6 separate regions of the Homo sapiens genome follow, and all the other regions are linked to region 1. Evidence: promoter capture Hi-C in 16 types of primary human blood cells and fetal thymus (Javierre and others, 2016). All regions are on one chromosome and are shown on one strand. The core of a region is centred on a gene start or on the middle of the fragment in contact, and the rest is flanking DNA. Distances in the headings are between cores, read along the strand shown.

Region 1 (3,248 bases), core at 242-2,741:
AGCCGCAGGCTGCGGGTGCTCAGCGCGCGCGCCGCCACGCCGGAGGAGGCGCCAGCCACACCTGTGCGCACCAGCGGCCGCCGCGGCGCGTGCAGCGGGAACGCGGCGCCCAGCTCCAGCGCGCGTCGCATGTCCGCTTCCAGCAGGTCCAGGCAGCCCGAGAAGGCCACCCAGAGCCGCTCGAACTCGGCGCGCTCGTCGGCGGCCAGGCCCCGGTCGCGCAGCACAGCAGTCAGCCGGGCGCAGGTGGACACCGCCAGCTCCTGCGCCTTCTGGCGCGTCTTTTGCAGCTCCTGCCGCAGGTTCTGCGAGTCCGCCGAGCCACCGACGGTCAGCACCAGGTGGTGGTAGCACGCAGTCGTCTTGTTGAGCCCGTCCAGCAGCGCCTTGCACTCCTCCCTCGCCATCGCGGTGGGCTCCGGCTGGGCCCGGCCGCCCGCGCCCGTTAGCCTCCCCCTCAGCGCGGCAGGATGTGGCTAACCCCCATCCCGGCCTTGGGCCGCGCGGCACGAACGCTCTTCATGGTCCGTGACTCGCTCGGCGCTACCGCCAACGTCCACGGAGCCCGCCCGGGACCCTCGACGTGCGCCTCTGCGGACGGGGCGCGCAGAGGGAGCCCCGTTAGCGGTCCCCCGCTCCCTCGTCCATCCTCCCCAGGCGCACTCCGAGTCACACGTCGTGTCTCTGCACCGCCCTGGCCTCCACGGTGGCTCCCTGCGAAGCTGAGGGTGCGGTCCCCATCCTCCGTGGGTGCCAACTCCGGGGCAAGCAGGCTGCAGAGCCGCGCGCTCCGCCTTAGGCGCTGCCAAGGGCGGCCGGGTAGGGTTTCCTAGGACCCGCCCACCCCGCTCGTCCCGGCCGGAGCTGCCACCCCCTGGATCAGTGGTAGGCGGGGCTCCACGCGGGGAGGTCACGTGTGGGTGGCCCATCCCTCCCTCCCCTTCGCCCCATCCGAGTTCTGGAATGTTAGCGCTCGGGAGATCCAACCCGTTCTATTTTACGGATGGGGAAACTGAGGCCCAGGTAAAAAGCGGGCCAGGCTCCCGCGGAGTTTTTGCCTGTGATGGGACTAGAACCCAGCTATACTGACTCCCGGACCCTGTCGGCGACAGGACGTCGGGTGCCCCGCAGGACTGGGCACCTCCGTGCCCCAAAGCGAGCAGTGACTGGCAATCCGAGGGGCTGGGCGCCGCCGGGGTCAGGTGTCCCTGCCGCGTTGCGCTCACGTTGGTCGGTGCTTCCAAGCGCTAACCCCACCTCTAGTGTCAGCCCGGCTCCCAGCCCCGCCCCTCACGTTCTGGGCACGCGCAGTTGCGGGCGTGGGGCGGGGCCAGCTGGAGTAGGAAGCGTAGGGAGCCGCCTGAGCCCCGCCCCCGGCTGGGCTGGACTCCATGATTGCTCTGCGTACACGTCACTCTGGGAAACGACGGTTTCTCATTGGGTCAGCTGTGGCGCGGCTCCGCCCCACGGCGGAGTAAGGGGTGGGCTATAGGGCCAGATCGCCGCGCGAGGGTGGTGGGCATCGAGGTCCCAGCAGCGGACGAGGGAGGTGCCGCCGTCGCCCAGGATGGGCTGGGAATGAAGCGATGTAGCCTTTTAAGTAAGTGTCCTCGCGCTGGCCTCCTCCTGCGCCTCCCCTCCCGCGGGATGGCTGCGCCTCGGGGCGCGGCGGCCGGGCGGGGCCCGGAGAGTGAGGGGGGAGGGGCTCCCTGCTCTCCGGAGTCCGCTCCCGGGTCCGCCAGGTGGCCCCGCGCCGCCCCAGCCCCCGCGTCCCCAGGTGGGTGCCCGGTGCGCAGCCGGCGCGCCCTGCCCACTCCGCCCCTCGGGTCTGGAGGAGGGGAGCGGTCGGCGCGGAGAATGCACCCTCCGAGCCTCGCTGCGTCGACACCGGCGGGTGTGGCCGGGGTGCCGGGTCCGGCGGTTCGGATCTGGCGGGGCGCGGGGCGGTCGCCGCGCGGTTTCCCGGAGGCCTAGGGTCTGCTGGAGGGGAGCGGCGGGTGGGGGTCCGAGCCGCGCGCGCAGCGGTTGTGGTTTCCGGGGGGTGATGAGGGCGCGGAGCGGGGAATCCCTGGCTGCCGGCCTCTCGCAGGGCGGGGGGGTCTCTGCATTCCCACAGGTAAAGATTGTTAAAGGAAAACTCTTAAGCACCGAGAGATGTTCCGGATTCTGAGTCTGTTCCGTCTTGTGGTTGAAAATGGACTGCCCAGGAGCACACGAGCCACGCGGTGCCCCCTTGGCTGCCCCACGAGGTGCAGGGGACGTGGGCACTCGCGGCCTGTGCTGGGCGAGGGAGCAAGGGACGGGTCTTCGCTGAGGATTTAGAGCATGCAGGGAACGAGGGCTGCTGGCAGTGCTGGAGGGACTGTGAGGCTGCAGAGAGCTCAGATTTTACAAGTTGATGGGTTTCATGGATAGAGGCCCCTATTTTGATTAAAAAATGCACTCTTCCCACTGGCCGAAGAGTAGAGCAGTGGATATTTTTTTTCTTTTCTTTCTTTTCGTTTTTTTCTTTTTGAGACAGGGTCTGGCTCTGTTGGCTAGTCTGGAGTGCAGTGATGCCATCATAGCTCATTGCAGCCTCAAACTCCTGGACTCAAGCAATCCTTTCACCTCAGCCTCTGTAGTAGCTGGGACTACAGGCGCATGCCACTATGCACGGCTAATTTTTAATTTTTTTTTTTTTTTTTTGTAGAGATGGAGTCTAGCAGGTTGCCTAGGCTGGTCTTGAACTCCTGGACTCAAGCCATGCTCTCGTCTTGGCCTCCCAAGGTGTTGGGATTACAGGCACTAGCCACCACGTTTTGCTGAGCAGTAGCTGTTACGTTTCGAGATCAGCCTGGCATGAGGACTGGTGTTGAGGTGGCCTAAGGGTCCGGTGTACTGAGCCCCGGGGCCTGCTGTCACCCAGGGGTCCGTCCTTTAACTGGGTGAGCAGTAGGCTGGGTGTTTGCTGCCAGGGCTTGGGTACTCCTGGCCTTGACCATTGTGTGGAAGGGGGGTTCTCAGCCACCCACACGCTACATAGGGTCGTTCCCAGGGGGATAGTAGTTTTCAGGACAAAATGGGTGGAAAGAGGGAAAATACTCTTTCCCTTCGGGGGAAGCTTTGGAGACAGCAGAGGGTGAGGAAGCTGCAAAGGTGGCCAGAGGCCAGATGTGCCAGGTCCTGAGCACCTAGCAGAGAAGTTGAGGGCTCACCTGGTGGGGAGTGCAGGGGAATCCTTTGAGGAATCCTGCAGAGCTCGGCGC
Region 2 (3,267 bases), core at 535-3,034, 2.8 Mb after region 1:
TTTAACACTCCAACTCTTAAGAACGGCATCTCTGGGGAATCATCAGTTTCTATGTTGTACGTGTTTGTAGTATTCTGATTTATTATAACAAACAAGCTTTACTTTCATAGCCAGAGAAAAACCAATAAAGTTAAATACTAGCAATTTTAATGGGAAGAGAAGTTGACGATACTGAGTACTGGAGCAAGGGTGGAGAGGCAGGAGCTCTCACACTCCCTGGCGGGAAGCGGAGATTGGTGCAGTTTGAGGAAGTCACTGACCACATCTAGTTAAGGTGCACAGGCACACGCCCTTTGACGTGGCAATCCTACATCTAGGAATGTGCCCTAAAGGAATCCAGGTAAGTGGCACCAATGTGCACAAGATGCCAATTGCAACACTGTTTGTGATGGTGAAAAAATCAGAAACCTACTTGTGGACCAGGGTGGCAGGGAGCATATCTATTGTGGAACATTCACACAGGGGAAAATTCTACCACCATTTCAAAAGAATAAACTCAACCCTACGTGGATCAACATAGGTAAATCTTGAAAATAACACTGAGGCCAGGCACGGTGGCTCACACCTGTAATCCCAGCATTTTGGGAGACTGAGGCAAGCAGATCACCTGAGGTAAAGAGTTCGAGGCCAGCCTGGCCAACATAGCAAAACCCCGTCTCCACTAAAAATACAAAAATTAGCTGGGCATGATGGTGGGCACCTGTAGTCCCAGCTACTCAGGAGGCTGAGGCAGGAGAATCACTTGAACCTGGTAGGTGGAGGTTGCAATGAGCTGAGATTGCGCCACTGCACTCCAGCCTAGGCAACAGGGCGAGACTCTATGTCAAAAAAGAAAAAAAAAAAAAAAAGAAAGAAAGAAAGAAAAGAAAATAACATTGAAAGAAAATAGCAAGTGATATTGTGATATGTAAAGTTTGATTCCACTTATTTTCTTTTTTTCTTTTTTTGTTTTTTTACTATTTCTTTTTCTTCCTTCCACCAAATGTAGGTAATTTTTTAAACACCCAAAGCAGTATTTGCTATAAGTCTATTTATTGCTTCTGGATCCAAAAATAAATGGTAAAAGTCTAAAAATATGTATGGGCATCATATACATCCACCTTGGGGAGTTGTTTCAGCTGAGGAGGAACATGAGGGGATCTTCATCTATGTCTACAATATTGTATTTCCTTTTTTAGTTTTTTTCTTTTGACAAACTGCTGCATACTCAAATGTTGTATTTCTTCTTTAAAACATGATATGAAGCCAAGTAGGCAAATATGGATGATGGATCCACAGCTATTCATTTGTATTGTTCTTTGTACTTTAAAATTTTTGCCAACCTGGTGGCTGTGAAATTATCTCATTGTTTTATTTTGCATTTCCCCGATGACTTGCGGATTGAGTCACCTTCATGTTGATTGTGTATTGCCAGTTCCCATTTTTCGTAATAGCATGAACAATGGAAGGTGAAATAAGGAGTTTTTCTAGAAGGTGGTGAAGGGCGCAGGTGGAGGCCCCCTGCAGGCAAGTGGGCATTCAGGTGTGCAGCCAGGGCAGGCCTCATTGGGGTAGAGACCCCCTGCTTGGGTGAGGCCGGCACAGAGGCAGTGGCAAAGTCTTCCAGGTGGTGAGGTTGCCCAGGGACAAATGTCAAGGGGGCGGCGGTGGCCGGGATGAATCTGCGGGTCCTCCACCTTATGCTGGAGCAGAGAGGAGCTGCCTGGGAGGGATGATGCTTGGTGCGTGGGGGCGGGGGGGAGCTGGCACTGAAGTTTCCAGAGGGAAAGAGGGGTCAGCAGAGCGAAGTGTGGCAGAGGTGCCTTGGGAGAGGAAGGCAGACGCATACTGTGAGATTTGTCCCACAGAGGTCTTAGGTGGCCTTGTTGAGGGCACTGTGTGGTGTGGCGACGCCAACTGGAGAGGGTCCAAGAGGGAGTGACAGTGAGTGTAGATGACACTTTCAAAGGGGCTGCCCAGGAAAAGAAGTGGCGGCTGGGTGCGATGGCTCACACCGTAATCCCAACACTTTGGGAGGCTGAGGCAGGCAGATCACTTGACGTCAGGAGTTCGAGACCAGCCTGACCAACATGATGAAACTCCGTCTCTACTAAAAATACAAAAATTAGCTGGGCGCGGTGGTGTGTGCCTATAGTCCCAGCTACGTGGGGGAGAATGGCTTCAACCTGAGAGGTGGAGGTTGGAGTGAGCTGAGATTATGCCACTGCACTCCAGCCTGGGTGACAGAGTGAGACTCCATCTCAAAAAAAAACAAAAAACAAAAAACAGAAGGAAGACAAGTTGGGAAGTTGGGAGAGGGAGGGGGGTGGAAGCCTGGAGAAGACACAGGGGCGGGCCCAAGGGGAGAGGCTAAGGAGGCTAAGGGCTCGCTTGCACAAGCTCCCAGGCATTCCTGGAGTCCTCACTGCTGTGCCCTGGGCTGCGCAAGGCACACAGGGCAGCCGGTAAGTCCCCACCTCAGTGCCCTACCAGGGCTGTCTGTAGGGCTAGAACACGTCCCCAGTGCTAAACTCAGCCGGGCACAGTGGCTCACGCCTGTAGCCACAGCATTTTGGGTGGCCAAGGCGGGAGGACCACTGGAGGCCAGGAGTTCAAGGCGTGCCTGGGCCACATAGTGAGATTCCCCCATCTCTACAAAAAAAACTTAAAACTAGTAGGGCATGGTGGTGTGCACCTGTAGTCCCAGCTACTCTGGAAGCTGAGGCGGGAGGATCTCTTGGGTCTAGGAGGTCGAGGCTGCAGTGAGCTATGATTGTGCCACGGCACTCCAACCTGATGACAGAGCAAGACCCTCTCTCTTAAAAAAGAAAATGCTTGGCCAGGCATGGTGGCTTATGCCTGTAATCCCATCACTTTGGGAGGCTGAGGTGGGCGGATCACCTAAGGTCAGGAGTTCGAGCCCAGCCTGGCCAACATGGCGAAACCCCGTTCTCTATTAAAAATACAAAAATTGCCCGGCGCGGTGGCTCACGCCTGTAATCCCAGCACTTTGGGAGGCTGAGGCGGGTGGATCACGAGGTCAGGAGATCGAGACCATCCTGGCTAACACAGTGAAACCCTGTCTCTGCTAAAAATACAAAAAATTAGCCGGGCGTGGTGGCGGGCGCCTGTAGTCCCAGCTACTCGGGAGGCTGAGGCAGGAGAATCGCTGGAACCCGTGAGGCAGAGGTTGCAGTAAGCCGAGATCATGCCGCTGCACTCCAGCCTGGGAGACAGAGCGAGACTCCGTCCCAAAAAAAGAAAAAGAAAAAGAAAAGAGAATGCTCA
Region 3 (3,238 bases), core at 645-3,144, 2.7 Mb after region 1:
AGTTCACATGAAAGCTGGTTGTTTAAAAGAGCCTGGCACCTCCTCCTTCCTCTCTTGCTCCCTAGCTCTTACTTCCACTTGCCATGTGACGTGCAGCTCCCCATTTGCCTTCCACCATGATTGGAAGCTTCCTGAGGCCTCACCAGAAACCGAGCAGGTGTTGGTGCCACATGCTTGTATGGCCCACAGAACTGCGAGCCAAATAAACCTCCTTTCTTTACAAATTACCCAGCCTTGGCTGGGCACAATAATTCACATCTGTAATCCCAAAACTTTGGGAGCCCAAAGCAGATGGATCTCCTGAGGTCAGGATTTCGAGACCAGCCTGGCCAATATGGTGAAACCCCATCTCTACTAAAGATACAAAAAATTAGACAGGCAAACCTCATGAGACATGAATAAACAGCCAGGGGAGTTCTTGATGAAAAAAGAGGCTGCTGGTTGTTGGTAAGAGAACAGCAACAGGGTGGATGCAAAACAGCTGCCATGCCCCATTTCTCAGCCCTCACCCTACCATGAGGCTGCAGGAATAGCTTTCCTGGAATGGCTGGCTGGTTGCAAGGTGGGCAAGATGACCCTTGTCCTCCAAAAATTGGGGCATTTTTGAGTCCTGAGGGATTAGCACAGACTCCTGTATTGGTTTCAGCCCTCTTGTGCTTCCTATGGCAGCATCCATCAGGAGATTTGAAAGTAAAGAACACCTTTTTGTAGCCAGAAATTTACAGATATCATTTCCAGGTCACTGGTTGCCTGTAAAGATTATGAAACAAAAACATCAGTAACCACATGCAATAAGGACTACACACTTTGCAAACATAGTTTGGAAAAGTCTCTAAACAAACAGATGGCTGCAACCCTCAACAAGCAAAAATCAGCAATCCCTGAAGAGGAGGAGAATCTGATTTTCAGAGTTACTACAATAATACCCAAAATGCCAAGTGCTCAACAAAATATTACAAAGCATACAAAGAAAAAGGAAAGTATAGCCTATTCACAGGGGGAAAAAAAGAATTCAATAGAAGCCATCCCCAAGGAAGCCTTTACATTGGAAACATTAGTCAAAGACATTAAATCAACTGTCTTACACCCAATGAGCTAAAGGAAACCAAAATAATATATGAACAAATAGGGAAGGCCAATGAAGAGATAGTTTAATCTTATAAAAAGGAACAAAATAGAAATCCTGGAGCCGAAAAGTACAATAGCTTGAACTTAGAAATTCACTAGAGAGATCAAAAAGCTGATCTGAAGAATCAGGAAGAAGAAAGAACCAGTGAACTTGAAGATAAGGCAATTGAAATTGTCCAGTTGTAAAGAGAGAAAAATAAATAACGAAAAATAGGCTGGCCATGGTGGCTCATGCCTGTAATCCCAGCACTTTGGGAGGCCGAGGAGGGTGGATCACTTGAATTCAGGAGTTTGAGATCAGCCTGGCCAACATGGTGAAACCCCATCTCTACTAAAATACAAAAATTAGCCAGGCATTGTGACGCGCACCTGTAACCCTAGCTGCTGGGGAGGCTGAGGCCAGAGAATCACTTGAATCAAGAAGGAGGAGGTTGCAGTGAGCCAAGATCATGCCACTGCACTCCAGCCTGGGCAATAGAGTGAGACTCTATCTCAAAAAAAAGAAAAGGAAAAATGAACAGAGCCTGATAGATCCATGTGATGCCATCAAGCATATATCAACATATGCATAGTAGAAGTTCCTGAAGGAGAAGAGGAACAGGAAGGGACAGAAAAAGAAATTTGAAGAAATAATGGCTGAAAACTTCCCAAATTTGATGAAGGATATGAACATACACGTCCAAGAAGCTTAACAAATTACAAGCGCGAGAAACTCAGAGATTCATACTGAAACTCACAGCCAGATTGTCAAAAATCAGAAACAAAAAGAGAATCTTGAAAGCAGCAAGAGAGGAACAACTTGTAAGGTACAAGGAGTCCTCAGTAACATTAATAGCTAAGCTTTCATCAGAAACCATAGAGGGGCTGGGTGCAGTGGCTCAGGCCTGTAATTCCAGCACTTTGGGAGGCCGAGGTGGGCAGATCGCCTGAGGTCAGGAGTTCGAGACCAGCCTGACCAATATGGCGAAACCCCATTCTACTAAAAATACAAAAATTAGCCAGATGCGGTGGTGGGCACCTGTAATCCTATCTACTTGGGAGGCTGAGGCTGGAGAATTGCTTGAACCTGGGAAGTGGAGGTTTCAGTGAGCCAAGATTGCACCACTGCACTCCAGCCTGGGCACAAGAGCAAAACTCTAAAAAAGCAAAACTCCATCTCAAAAAAAAATTTTTTTTAAGTGCCGGGCACAGTGGCTCACGCCTATAATCCCAGCACTTTGGGAGGCCAAGGCAGGTGGATCATGAGGTCAGGCATTCTAGACCAGCCTGGTCAACATAGTGAAACCCTGTCTCTACTAAAAATACAAAAAACTAGCCAGGCGTGGTGGCGGGTGCCTGTAGTCCCAGCTACTTGGGAGACTGAGGCAGGAGAATTGCTTGAACCTGGAAGGCAGAGGTTGCAGTGAGCCAAGACGGCACCATTTCACTCCAGCCTGGATGACAGTGTGAGACTCCATCTCAAAAAAAAAGAAAAGAGAAAAGAAAAGAAAAGAAAAGAAAAGGAACCAGAGGCCCAGAGGCAGTGGAATAACACAGTTAAAGTCCTGGGGAAAAAAAAAAAAAAGACTGTCAACCAAGAATTTCCTACCAGACAAACTATCCTTCAGGAATAAAGGAGAAATTAAGACATTTTCAGATAAATAAACGCAGAGAAAGCTCATTGCTAGTAGCCCTGCTCTACAAGAGCTGCTAAAATGAATCCATCAGGCTGAAATGAAAGGAAACTTGATAGTAATTCAAAGCCATGATGAGAAAAAAAAAGAACACTGATAAAAATAGTAACTACATACATCAGTAAATATAAAAGCCAGTATTATTGTAGGTTTTGTTCATAATACTTTGTTTTTCACCTATCATTTAAAGGGCAAATGCATGAAACAATAATTATAAATCTATGTTAATGGGCACAGAATGTATAAAGATATGATCTGGGACAATAATAATATAAAGAGGGAGGGAAAGAGATGTATAGGAGCAAAGTATTTGTATACTCTTAAAACTAAGTTAGTATTATTCAAATTAGGGTGTTATAAATTTAAGATGCTAATTGTGATCCCCAAGGCAACCGCTAAGAAAATAACTAAAAAATATACAGACAGGGAAAGAAAAA
Region 4 (3,067 bases), core at 166-2,665, 2.0 Mb after region 1:
CTGCCCACTCAGAGACCACCCTCGCTGAGCTGCTCCTCCGTGGCCTGGCCCTTCTAAACCTCTGGCTCCTTCTTCTGGGCATTTGGGGTATGGGATCCCTTTCCTAATTAACCAGAAACGCCCCAACCAGGCTTGGGCACACAGGTGGTCCTCAGGAATCGGAGCTGGCTTAGAGAAGGTGGAATGAGTTGGGAGCTCCTGTGATCACAGCAACAAACGACTTTTCCACCAGCCAAGAACTGGGCACCTCCCACGCGGCCCCTTCACATGGCCTCGAAGTGGGTGTGGCAAATATGACCCGCCTTATAGAGGAGACCTACACCGAGCCCCCAGGGAGCCATCAGCAGAGAGAGGCAGCGCAGAGGCTGGAGCCGACTTCCCCTCACCACAGATCTGGGTCAACTCTAAGGTAACAAACTTTGGTGGCTCCATCTTCACGGGTACCTGGGAGAGGCATAACAAGGGTCCCTCCTCAGTGTCCTTTGGGACTGCAGGGACCCTCAAATTGGCCGCCAAGATCCTGAGCTTTTAAGCTCCCAGAAGGCGCCCCCACACAAAAACTCAGACACACCAGGAAGCAACTGTAGCCTGGCCTGGGACAGGGTTAGCAGTGTATTAGGCAGAAAATTCTAGAAGGGGCCCCTGATTGGCCCAGGGATGCAGGACCTGTCCTAGCAAGCAAAAGAAAGTCAATCACACCCCCTCCCCTCAAACTCAAGGTCAGGAGCCCCCACTGTGGAATCTCTACATGGTGTAGAGTCTCCAGGGCAAATAAATATCTTAATTTTGCAAAAATTTATTTCCTGGAGAGAGAGAAAATGTGGCCAAGACCATCATCATGAACTAAAAATTTTTTTTCTAATATTACATTTAACATCCAAGAAGAATCCAGATAACTTGGAGCAGTTAGCACTTCTGAAGGGCACTCCAGTTATTTTAGAGCCAATTACATGCCATTTCGATAGAATTCCTTGAAAGGATAGTGCCCTGAGGACCTGGCTTCAAATCTAGCCCTGCCAATTACCAGCTGTGTGACCTTAGACAAGTTACTTAACCTCTCTGAGCCTGCGTTTCCCCATCGATGAAATGAGGCTAATAACAATGTATACCTTATAGGGTTTGACCTTCACAGCATAGTTCTTAGCACATTGCAAGCACTCAGGACATGCTGAGTGTATACTAACACTACTGCTCTGCTATTGTTATCTAGTACTGTAGTAAATAGGCTGGGAGCTGTTCATGTACTCTATATCCAAGACAACCTGACATGCTCTGGGCTTCCAGAGCAGGTAGGTCTTCATTTACTCTGGGAATCTGAAAAGGTGAGATTACCTCACTTCTCATTAATTAAAAAAAAAAAAAAAGCTAGAAAAAACTCTAGCTGAGAGAGTCTTCTGACATTGTTTTATACACAGTCATGGTCAGTCCCTTCAATTAACCTTGATCCAGGCCATTGGGGACACTTCGGCATTTCAGGTCTCCTAACCACCCACCTTCCCACTCACAGGCAGCTTCGGCATGGGGGAGGCCTCCCGGATGGACACAGAAAGCAGCTAACGCACACAGAGGGAGAGGCTGATAGCGTGGGAGGGTGCAGGTGCCCCCTCCCTGCACCCAAGGGCCAACCAGGCACTAACCCAGCTTTTCCACCAGGCAAGCCTGTGTGCAAGTCACCCCTGTTCTGCTACTGGGACAGGCGATTGCTCCTCTGAGCCTCAGTTTCCCCTTCTGTAAGCTGGGGATAATTACACCTGTTCAGGCGTGTAAATGAATTCAGATGGAGACAGTACCTGGTGCTCGGGAGGTCTACAGCACACAGCATGTGTTCAGTCATTAGTCCTCGGTGCTGTGCTACTGCGAGATGCTAACGAGGTTAGTTTAGACAAGAGGGCCCAGCTTACAGCACAGTTTGCATTCCTGGGAAAATTGGGTAGGGCAAGAGCTTACACCAAGGTAGGCCTGAGAACAGCTGCCCCAAGGGTCAGGCGATACTCAGCACCTTCCCCTGTGGCCCAGGAGACATGAGCCCAGGGTTACCACAACTTCTGACTTTTCCAGAAATTGCCTGATATGCTCTGTAAAATATCCTGGATTTTCAATGTGAATAAGTCTTTTAAAATATGCATACATACATACATACATATATATATATATATACACACACACACATATATACACATACATATATTTTACATATATATTTTTGAATATATATATTTTGTGTGTATATTTATATTATATATATACACACAGAGAAAACAAATAAAGCAATTAAAAGGTATTTCTGGGTCCCAGCTCTGAGGCAAGGGAAACTAGATCCGCGAGGTTTCCAGCTCCCGCCTTACCCCATGTGTGGGCTTCTGAGGATTCTGCTACCCCCAGAGCCCGGAGCTGTTCCTAGAACACCCCACCTTGAGGCTCAGAAAGCCCCCTCTCAAAGCCTAAACAGTAATAGAAATGTGGGTTCCACTTCTGTGCAGAGGCCGCCATCTACTGGTGGAAGGACGTGAGTGCAGCCAGTGCCTGCCGGGATCCCCAGCAGAGGATGGGAGGAGAGGGGAGAAAAGAGAGGAGGGAGTGGAAGGGAGGGAGGAGGCAGGGAAAGGGAGGGAGAAAAGAAGAGCGGACAGGAGGGAACGTGTCGGACCCGGCCAGCTTCTGATGTGAGAAGGAACCCAGCAGCAGGGCCTGAGCCACCTCATCAAAGATGAGAAGCAGCTCAAGCATCCTGAGTGATGGGAGACTGGGAGGCAGTGCACCTGCTGCTGGGAGGGCTGGGCCTAAGCTCAGAACCTCCTGGGAGACCAGGTGAGCCGTGATCAGCAAGCGAGCATGCACACGCATGTCTGTGGCATGTCTGCAGATAGGCACCTTCTGTCTAGATCAACCCTAAAGCAACAAACTTGGTGTAGTCCCATCTTCATGGGTACCTAGGTGAGATGTATCGAGGGTCCCTCCTCAGAGCCCTTTGGGGCTGCAGGGGCCCCAGCCTGGACCCCAGGATCCCAAATAAAGTCTCCCAAAAGGGGCCACCACAGGAATCCCAGACACACCAGGAATCACCTGT
Region 5 (3,353 bases), core at 412-2,911, 2.9 Mb after region 1:
TGAATGTTCCACTGATACTCTTGCTGAGGTCAGGCTGAGCTGGGGATCAATGCAGGTAATTGCTGGAGGGGCTATAAGAACTTCCAGGGCCAGAAAGAGGAGAAGAATTTGAAATCTGACCTACAGAAGACGGAGGAGGTCCTTAAACACCATGACAAGAAAAATAGGTGTAGATAGGGGGAAAGTTGTTGCTTATAAACACCCAGGAACCCTCCCCCAGTTCACCAGCTTTTACAGACAAGGCCGAGAGCCCAACTTTGCCCCTGGATGGCACAGGACTCTGGGTTACTTTCTTCCTCTAACTGAGTCTCAGTTTCCTCCTGGGCAGAAGGGGAGGACTGAATACTGTGATGTCCATTCTGGTTCTTCCAGGCTAGGCACATATCTGTAATCTCAGACGGTGCCAGTCAGGAACACCAAGCTTCCTGGAATCCCAGGACTGGCAGAGGCCAGTGCCCACTGACAGGTACAGTGCTGGGCCATATGGGCTGTGGCTGCATTAGAGAAGTTCACTCTCACCAGAGTGTCTCCAGCAAGAGACAAGACAGCATGAAACCCCATGTGACCCAGGGGGAGAAGGACCTCCACAGAGGCCCAACCCCGGGCGGACCTACCTGGCTCCCACACTGGTCCCTCGCCGTCCTGTCGATTTTGGCCATTTCTTCATCTGGATCCTGCAAAAACTAACATGAAGCCACCCCCATGACCCCAAGGAAACACACCAAACAAGACAAAAACAGAGAGAAGAAGAGAAAGCTGATCAGGTTATGAGCTCCGTTCCTGCCCAAGGGACCCCCGCCCCCGTAGGCAGAGCCAAGTCGGGTACCCAGGTGAGATGGGGGGGATGCTCCCCAACCTGTCTCTTTTGTACTCACAACGGTCACGTTTGCCTTCCTCTTCCTGGAGCGAGCCGAGAACTCCGCGCCGCCGTCCTCCTTCATGGTGTCCCGCTCCTTCGCATCCCTGTGGACCCGGGTGGCACCGGGCCGGGTGAGCACCCGCGGCCGCCCCTCCCCCACGCCACCCGTCCCGTCCCGTCCCGTCCCGTCCGGCCCCGCGGCGCGGGCACTCACCGCTCCCTGCGCTCCCTCGGCATGATGGGGCTGCTCCGGCCTGAGGCCTGCGGGGCGGCGCGGGGTGAGGCGGCGGCGGGGTCAGGCCGCGGGCCCAGTACCCCTTCCCCCTTTGCGCGCGGGCGGCCGGGCGAGCCAGGAAGATGGCCGATGGCGGGGTGGCCTGTCACCCGCGACCCGGGCACCCGCCGACCCCCGACCCGGGGTCCCGCCGCCCCCGCCGCCCTCACCGGCCCGTCGCCTCCCGGGGCCCGGGCTGCCTCAGTGTCCCCTCCACCCCACCCCGCCGCGCTCTCAGCACCCTCCCGGGCGCCCCGCGACGCCGCCCGGGGACCCGCGACCCGGCCGCACCCCGCCCCCACCCAGCTCCCCGGCGCGGTCTGGGCCCCAGGAGTCCCTGTCCGCAGCCCGCGGCAGTAGACTCACCAGGGTCTTGTCCGCGGCGGACGGCGCGCTCCAGTCCCGGCAGGCGGCGGCGGCGACGGCAGTGGCGGCGGCGGCGCCGGGAGTCGGCGGGCCGAGCGCGCGGCGGTGGCGGGATCCGCGCCTGCCCCCTACACCGCGCTGGCGGCCGCGCCGGCTGCTCCTGCGCCCGGCTCAGAGCGGGACATTTAAAATCCCTGCGCGCGGAACCGGCCCCGGCCCGCCCTCGCACCGCCCCGCCGCGGCTCCCAGCCCCTCAGCGGCCGCGCGGGACCCAGAGCCCGTCCCGCCCCGTCCCTCGCCCCGCCCCCGGACCCGCCCCTCCACGGCGCCGGCCCGCGAGGCGCAGGGACGGGGAATCAGGGGCGGGGCCGGCGGACAGGGCGGGGCCAAGTGACAGGGCCTGCGCGCCGAGGGCCGGGCGCGGGGCGCGGGGCGCGGGACGCGGGGCGGGGCGGCGGGCGGGACGCGGGAGAAGTCTGGCGCGCGGCGGCGAGGGGCGGGCCGCGGGCGCCGGGGGCGGGGCCGAGCGGCGCTGGAGCGGCAAAAAGCCGCGTGGCTGGCGCGGGTGGAATGTAAACACGGCGGGCGGCGCGGGTTCGGGCCCCGGCAGGGCTGAGCCAAGGGGATGTGTGGGGGGCCTACCCGAGGAGCACCGCCCGCCGTTCCTCCGCGCGCGCTGTCCCGCCAGGCACGCCCTCCCCGCCCCCGAGACGCCGAGTTCCGGGCCCTGAGTCCTGGGCGGGGACATCCCCAAGGTCACCGCGCCTGTGCCTTGGCCTAGAACCAAGGCTTCAGGCCGCGGGGTCTGGGGCTCCCTGGGGGCCGGCTGCTATTCCTGGCCGCCTGTCCATTCATCCGTCAGTGCATTGGGTCGTTCATTCATTCATTCAAGGAATCTGTGAGTTCCTTCCATGCGCCCCTTCCATATGCGCCCCTCCCCCGCAAGCCCTTCCTGGCTCTCTGAAGACCTTTCTGACTCTGGGATTCCCTTGCACCCCATCTCTCACTTAAAGCCTTCCAGTTGAGGCCGGGCGCGGTGGCTCACGCCTTTAATCCCAGCATTGTGGGAGGCCGAGACGGCTGATCCCTTGGGGTGTTCGAGACCAGCCTGGGTAACAGTGAGACCCCCATTTCTACAGAAAAAGAAACAAAAAGCCTTCCAGTTGTTTCGCATAAGGGTCAAATCCACACTCCGTGTCCTAGGCTACAGGCTCCACAGGACCTGACCCTGATCCCCCACCCTCAGACCTCAGGCCTCCTCTCCACAGCTCCTCTGTCCTTTCTCCCTCAAGACTTGTATTTTTTATTGTGGCGGGGGGTGGGGGGTGGCAGGTAGGGATAGGGTCTTGCTATGTTGCTCAGGCTGGTCTCAAACCCATGAGCTCAAGCGATCCTCCCGCCTTGGCCTCCCAAAGTGCTGGGAGCCCAGCCCCTACACAGTCTTGGTGCCTCTCTGTTTCTTGTCTCTCTCCCCACCTTGCCCATCTTGCTCACTGCTGTATCTGTCAGTTCTTGGCATAGTGCCTGGACCAAGGGAGACACTTAAATTGTTTCTGAATGAACATTTGAAAGACAGGCACTGGCCAAGCCCTTGCAGGGCTTACCGGCTAATGAGAGAGACAGGTAAGGAACAGTCATCACCTCAGAGTACCCTCTGTACTCAGCTTCAGGAAGATGTGCGTAAAAGAAGGCTCTGGAATGCTCCCAGGGCCCTTCTTAAGCTAAAGTCTCAGTCCTGTCCCTCACCCTCCCCTAGTGACCGTTTTCTTGAAGTTAGAGCCAGGGTCTTATCAAAGAGGCTCACAAATTCATGATTCCCCCAGGTGCTCTGAGGCCAAGGCTGCTGGGCTACTT
Region 6 (2,998 bases), core at 499-2,998, 3.0 Mb after region 1:
TCTGGCTCATTTTTCCATGTTTAGTGGAGATGGGGTTTCACCATGTTGCCCAGGCTGGTCTCAAAGTCCTGGCCTCAGGTGATCTGCCCGCCTCGGCCTCCCAAAGTGCTGGGATTACAGGTGTGAGCCACCGCGCTGGGCTGCATGAACCTCTTACATGCTTGCCTTCTCTGGAGGGCCTGGACTTTGAAGCTTCTTTCACTCCCAGCATCTTTCCCTACACAGGCCCTCTTCCCCACTATCTCTGGGGGAGGAGTCTGCAGGCCAGTTCTGCAATGTGCCGCCAGAGGGAGCTGCCCGCAGAGAAACGGGAGCGCCACACTCAGGCCCCAGGAAGGCAGCAAGCTGAGTTCCCCTGGCCTCAGTTCACTTTCCCTCTTGAAAGTCACCCAAACTCAAGCAAAAGCTCCGATTCAGGAATAAATGGGGTTGTTTTATCCCAGCCAAGGCCTGGGGAAGCTTGGTATTAAGAGCGTTTGTTCCATTCTTTTAAAAATGGAAAAGGGTCCGTCCTCTGGGTGCCCATGGCACCCTGGAAAGCAGGCAGAGTGCTGGTCACAGGCGGAGACTTTGAGATACCGAGACCGAGGCTGGAGTTTGGGCCCTGAAACTTTCTAACCAGGATGGCCTTGGGCAGAGCAGCCTGTGTTTAGAGCTTCCCATCTGTAATATAGCAGTGACAACCATGCCTGCTTTGCAGGGTTCCTGTTAGGATTAATTCTCTATAGAGCCCCCCAGAAGCCACTTTTGGATTTGAGATGGTTCAAGGCCAGACCTTGCATGACAAGAGTAGGGACAGCTTTCCACAGGCCTCAATAAAGTAGTATTCCCAGGCAGTTCTGCAACCCCAGCCTCATGCCCTTTGCACCTTCCTAAGAGGCTGCCTTGCCTCAGCTTTGGTCCCCATCCAAGACTCCTAAGAGCAAAGCCAGTTCTTTTCCTTTTTTTTCTTTCTTTAAGAGACGGTCTCACTCTGTCACCCAGGTTGAAGTGCAGTGGTGGGATCATAGTTCACTGCAGCCTCGAACTCCTGGGCTCAAGCAATCCTCCCGCTTCAGCCTCCCAAAATGCTGTAGGTCACAGGTATGACTCACCCACCCGGCCTAATTTTTATTATTATTTGTAGAGATGGGATGTCACTGTGTTGCCCACGCTCGAACTGCTGGGCTCAAGCAATCCTCCCTCCTCAGCCTCACTGGCAGCTGGGATTACGAGTCCCACCCAACCTGCTTCTCCTTTTGCAACCCCCAGACCCAGAGGCTCCAGAGCAGGCTCTGGAACAGAGGAAATCTGGCTCCGGCCCACACATTCACCAAATACTGACGCAGCACCCTTGACCTCCAGATGCCCCTGTGCTCTCTTCTGTGCCCAGGCTGCGGGGAGAGAGGGGTCCTCCAGGCCAAAGGGAGGGAGGTCTCCGGGAGGTCCCCGCGGTCCTGGAGGCAGGTGCGCGGGGCCCGGATGTGATCATGCGTGCGCGTGGGAGAAAGGCAGGGCTGGGCCTGCGGGAGCGCGGCCTTGCGGTTCCCAGGACTCTTCTCCGGGCGCCTCGTCTCCTTACGCCACCCGCAACCCAAGCCAGGGCCCCGGTGACAGCGGCGGGGTGGGCCAGGACCGGGGAGGGGGTGCCCAGCAGCGACCCCCGGCTCCCCCTAAGGCCGGGCGCAGCTCGGAGCCAGGAGCTGGCCCGGCGCGTGGCTTCCCGGAAGGCCCGGCGCAGCCGGAAGGTGGGACGGAGGGCGGGGCCAGCGCCGGGGCCGCCACCAAGGCCTGCGCGACCCTCCGCGGGGCTGGGGAGCTGGGCGGGGAGCCCGGGGCCTGCCAGGCCCGGGCTGCAGCCGCGTCTGATCGCCGAGCGCGCCGCGTAGACCTCCGCTCCCCCAGGTAAAGGAGCGCCCGGAGCCGGGGCGGGGCGCCTCCCAGGCCGCGCCCCGCGAGAGGAGGGGGCACCCCAAGAGCAGGCCTGGAGACCCGGGAGTGCCTTGGGGAGAGGGTCCCCGCCCTGCCGGGAGCCCGGCCCTCCCGGTGCCGGGGTGGACACTGTTAGTGTAGTCATTGTCCCTATGGAGAAACTGAGGCATGGAGAGGCTGAAGTCACACAAGTAAGCAGCAGAGCTGGGACTAGAGTCCCGGGCCCTGGCTCGCTGTCACCCAGGAGTGGCGTAGGCATGGGTGTGGTGGGTGGGGGTGGGGTGCGGGTGGTGGATGTGGTGGGAGTGGGTGAGGTTGGGTGGGGTGGGGATGTGGGTTTGGCGGGGGTGGGGTGCGGAATGTGATGGGTAGGGGTGGGGTAGAGTGGGGGTGGCTGGTGGGGCAGGGGCGGGGCTGGGGGTGGGGTGCTAGGTATTATAAATGTGAAGCGGATCCTGACAGGACACCTGTGGGGCAGCGGAGCTGGGCTGAGCCATATGGGAAGAAAATCTGGGCGCTAGTTTAGATTTGGTCAGGAAGGGTCGTTAATGCTTTAGGAGGTGAGATTAGTTTTGGGGATGGCAGGTAGTTTGTTGAGCTTTTGTTTAGACAGTCTTGCTCTGTTGTCCAGGCTGGAGTGCAATGGCGCGATCTCGGCTCACTGCAACCTCCACCTCCCTCGTTCAAGCAATTCCCCTGCCTCAGCCTCCCTAGTAGCTGGGATTACAGGCGACACCACCAAGCCTGGCTAATTTTTTTGTATTTTTAGTAGAGACGGAGTTTCACCATATCGGCCAGGCTAATCTCAAACTCCTGACCTTGCGATCCACCTGCCTCAGCCTTCTGCAATGCTGGGATTACAGACGTGAGCCACCCCGACCAATTTTTGTATTTTTTAGTAGAGACGGGGTTTCACCATCTTGGAATAGCACCTGTAGTTCCAGCTACTCGGGAGGCCGAGGCGGAAGAATTGCTTGAGGCCAGTTCCCGACCAGCCTAGGCAACACAGGGAGACTGCGTTTCTGGAAAAAACAACAACAACACCAGCAACAACAAAAAGCAGGAAGGAAGGGGAGAGGGAAAGAGA

Evidence for each region. The method cuts DNA at HindIII sites, captures the fragments that hold promoters and counts their contacts. A CHiCAGO score of 5 or more calls a contact.
Region 2: a fragment that was not itself captured here is called in contact with the fragment with the promoter of ANKRD27 in region 1 in 1 of 17 cell types (activated CD4 T cells); the score reaches 5.8 in activated CD4 T cells.
Region 3: a fragment that was not itself captured here is called in contact with the fragment with the promoter of ANKRD27 in region 1 in 2 of 17 cell types (naive B cells and fetal thymus); the score reaches 8.2 in naive B cells.
Region 4: a contact is called between a fragment that was not itself captured here and the fragment with the promoter of ANKRD27 in region 1, in 1 of 17 cell types (endothelial precursors). The highest score is 5.2, in endothelial precursors.
Region 5: a contact is called between the fragment with the promoter of CCNE1 here and the fragment with the promoter of ANKRD27 in region 1, in 1 of 17 cell types (neutrophils). The highest score is 6.1, in neutrophils.
Region 6: the fragment with the promoter of C19orf12 here is called in contact with the fragment with the promoter of ANKRD27 in region 1 in 3 of 17 cell types (activated CD4 T cells, monocytes and M0 macrophages); the score reaches 6.1 in activated CD4 T cells.

The regions. Positions count from the first base shown.
Region 1 is chr19:32,673,423-32,676,670 of GRCh38, reverse strand. It overlaps ANKRD27 (ankyrin repeat domain 27), which reads left to right and starts at 1,491. Exons shown (of 29, transcript NM_032139.3): 1 at 1,491-1,600. It overlaps RGS9BP (regulator of G protein signaling 9 binding protein), which reads right to left and starts at 823. Exons shown (of 1, transcript NM_207391.3): 1 at 1-823. The coding sequence starts at 407. RefSeq lists enhancers at 127-176, 947-1,056, 944-1,563 and silencers at 577-636, 1,207-1,936, 1,957-2,006. The HindIII fragment of the contact is 4,511 bases long and covers 1-3,105 here.
Region 2 is chr19:29,832,162-29,835,428 of GRCh38, reverse strand. No RefSeq gene overlaps it. Among named protein-coding and RNA genes, the nearest start is that of CCNE1, 22 kb to the right of the region's middle. The HindIII fragment of the contact is 3,371 bases long and covers 99-3,267 here.
Region 3 is chr19:29,935,155-29,938,392 of GRCh38, reverse strand. It overlaps a transcript of URI1 not described here. Among named protein-coding and RNA genes, the nearest start is that of URI1, 5.5 kb to the left of the region's middle. The HindIII fragment of the contact is 153 bases long and covers 1,818-1,970 here.
Region 4 is chr19:30,665,923-30,668,989 of GRCh38, reverse strand. It overlaps ZNF536-AS1 (ZNF536 antisense RNA 1), which reads left to right. Exons shown (of 2, transcript XR_007067216.1): 1 at 1-409. It also overlaps a transcript of ZNF536 not described here. Among named protein-coding and RNA genes, the nearest start is that of ZNF536-AS1, 2.8 kb to the left of the region's middle. The HindIII fragment of the contact is 4,204 bases long and covers 1-3,067 here.
Region 5 is chr19:29,810,299-29,813,651 of GRCh38, reverse strand. CCNE1 (cyclin E1) reads right to left here and starts at 1,661. Exons shown (of 12, transcript NM_001238.4): 1 at 1,500-1,661; 2 at 1,074-1,120; 3 at 876-963; 4 at 615-683. The coding sequence starts at 1,096. RefSeq lists a silencer at 1,578-2,207. The HindIII fragment of the contact is 7,130 bases long and covers 424-3,353 here.
Region 6 is chr19:29,714,011-29,717,008 of GRCh38, reverse strand. It overlaps C19orf12 (chromosome 19 open reading frame 12), which reads left to right and starts at 1,748. Exons shown (of 3, transcript NM_031448.6): 1 at 1,748-1,884. RefSeq lists enhancers at 389-608, 1,154-1,253 and a silencer at 1,424-2,213. The HindIII fragment of the contact is 2,629 bases long and covers 462-2,998 here.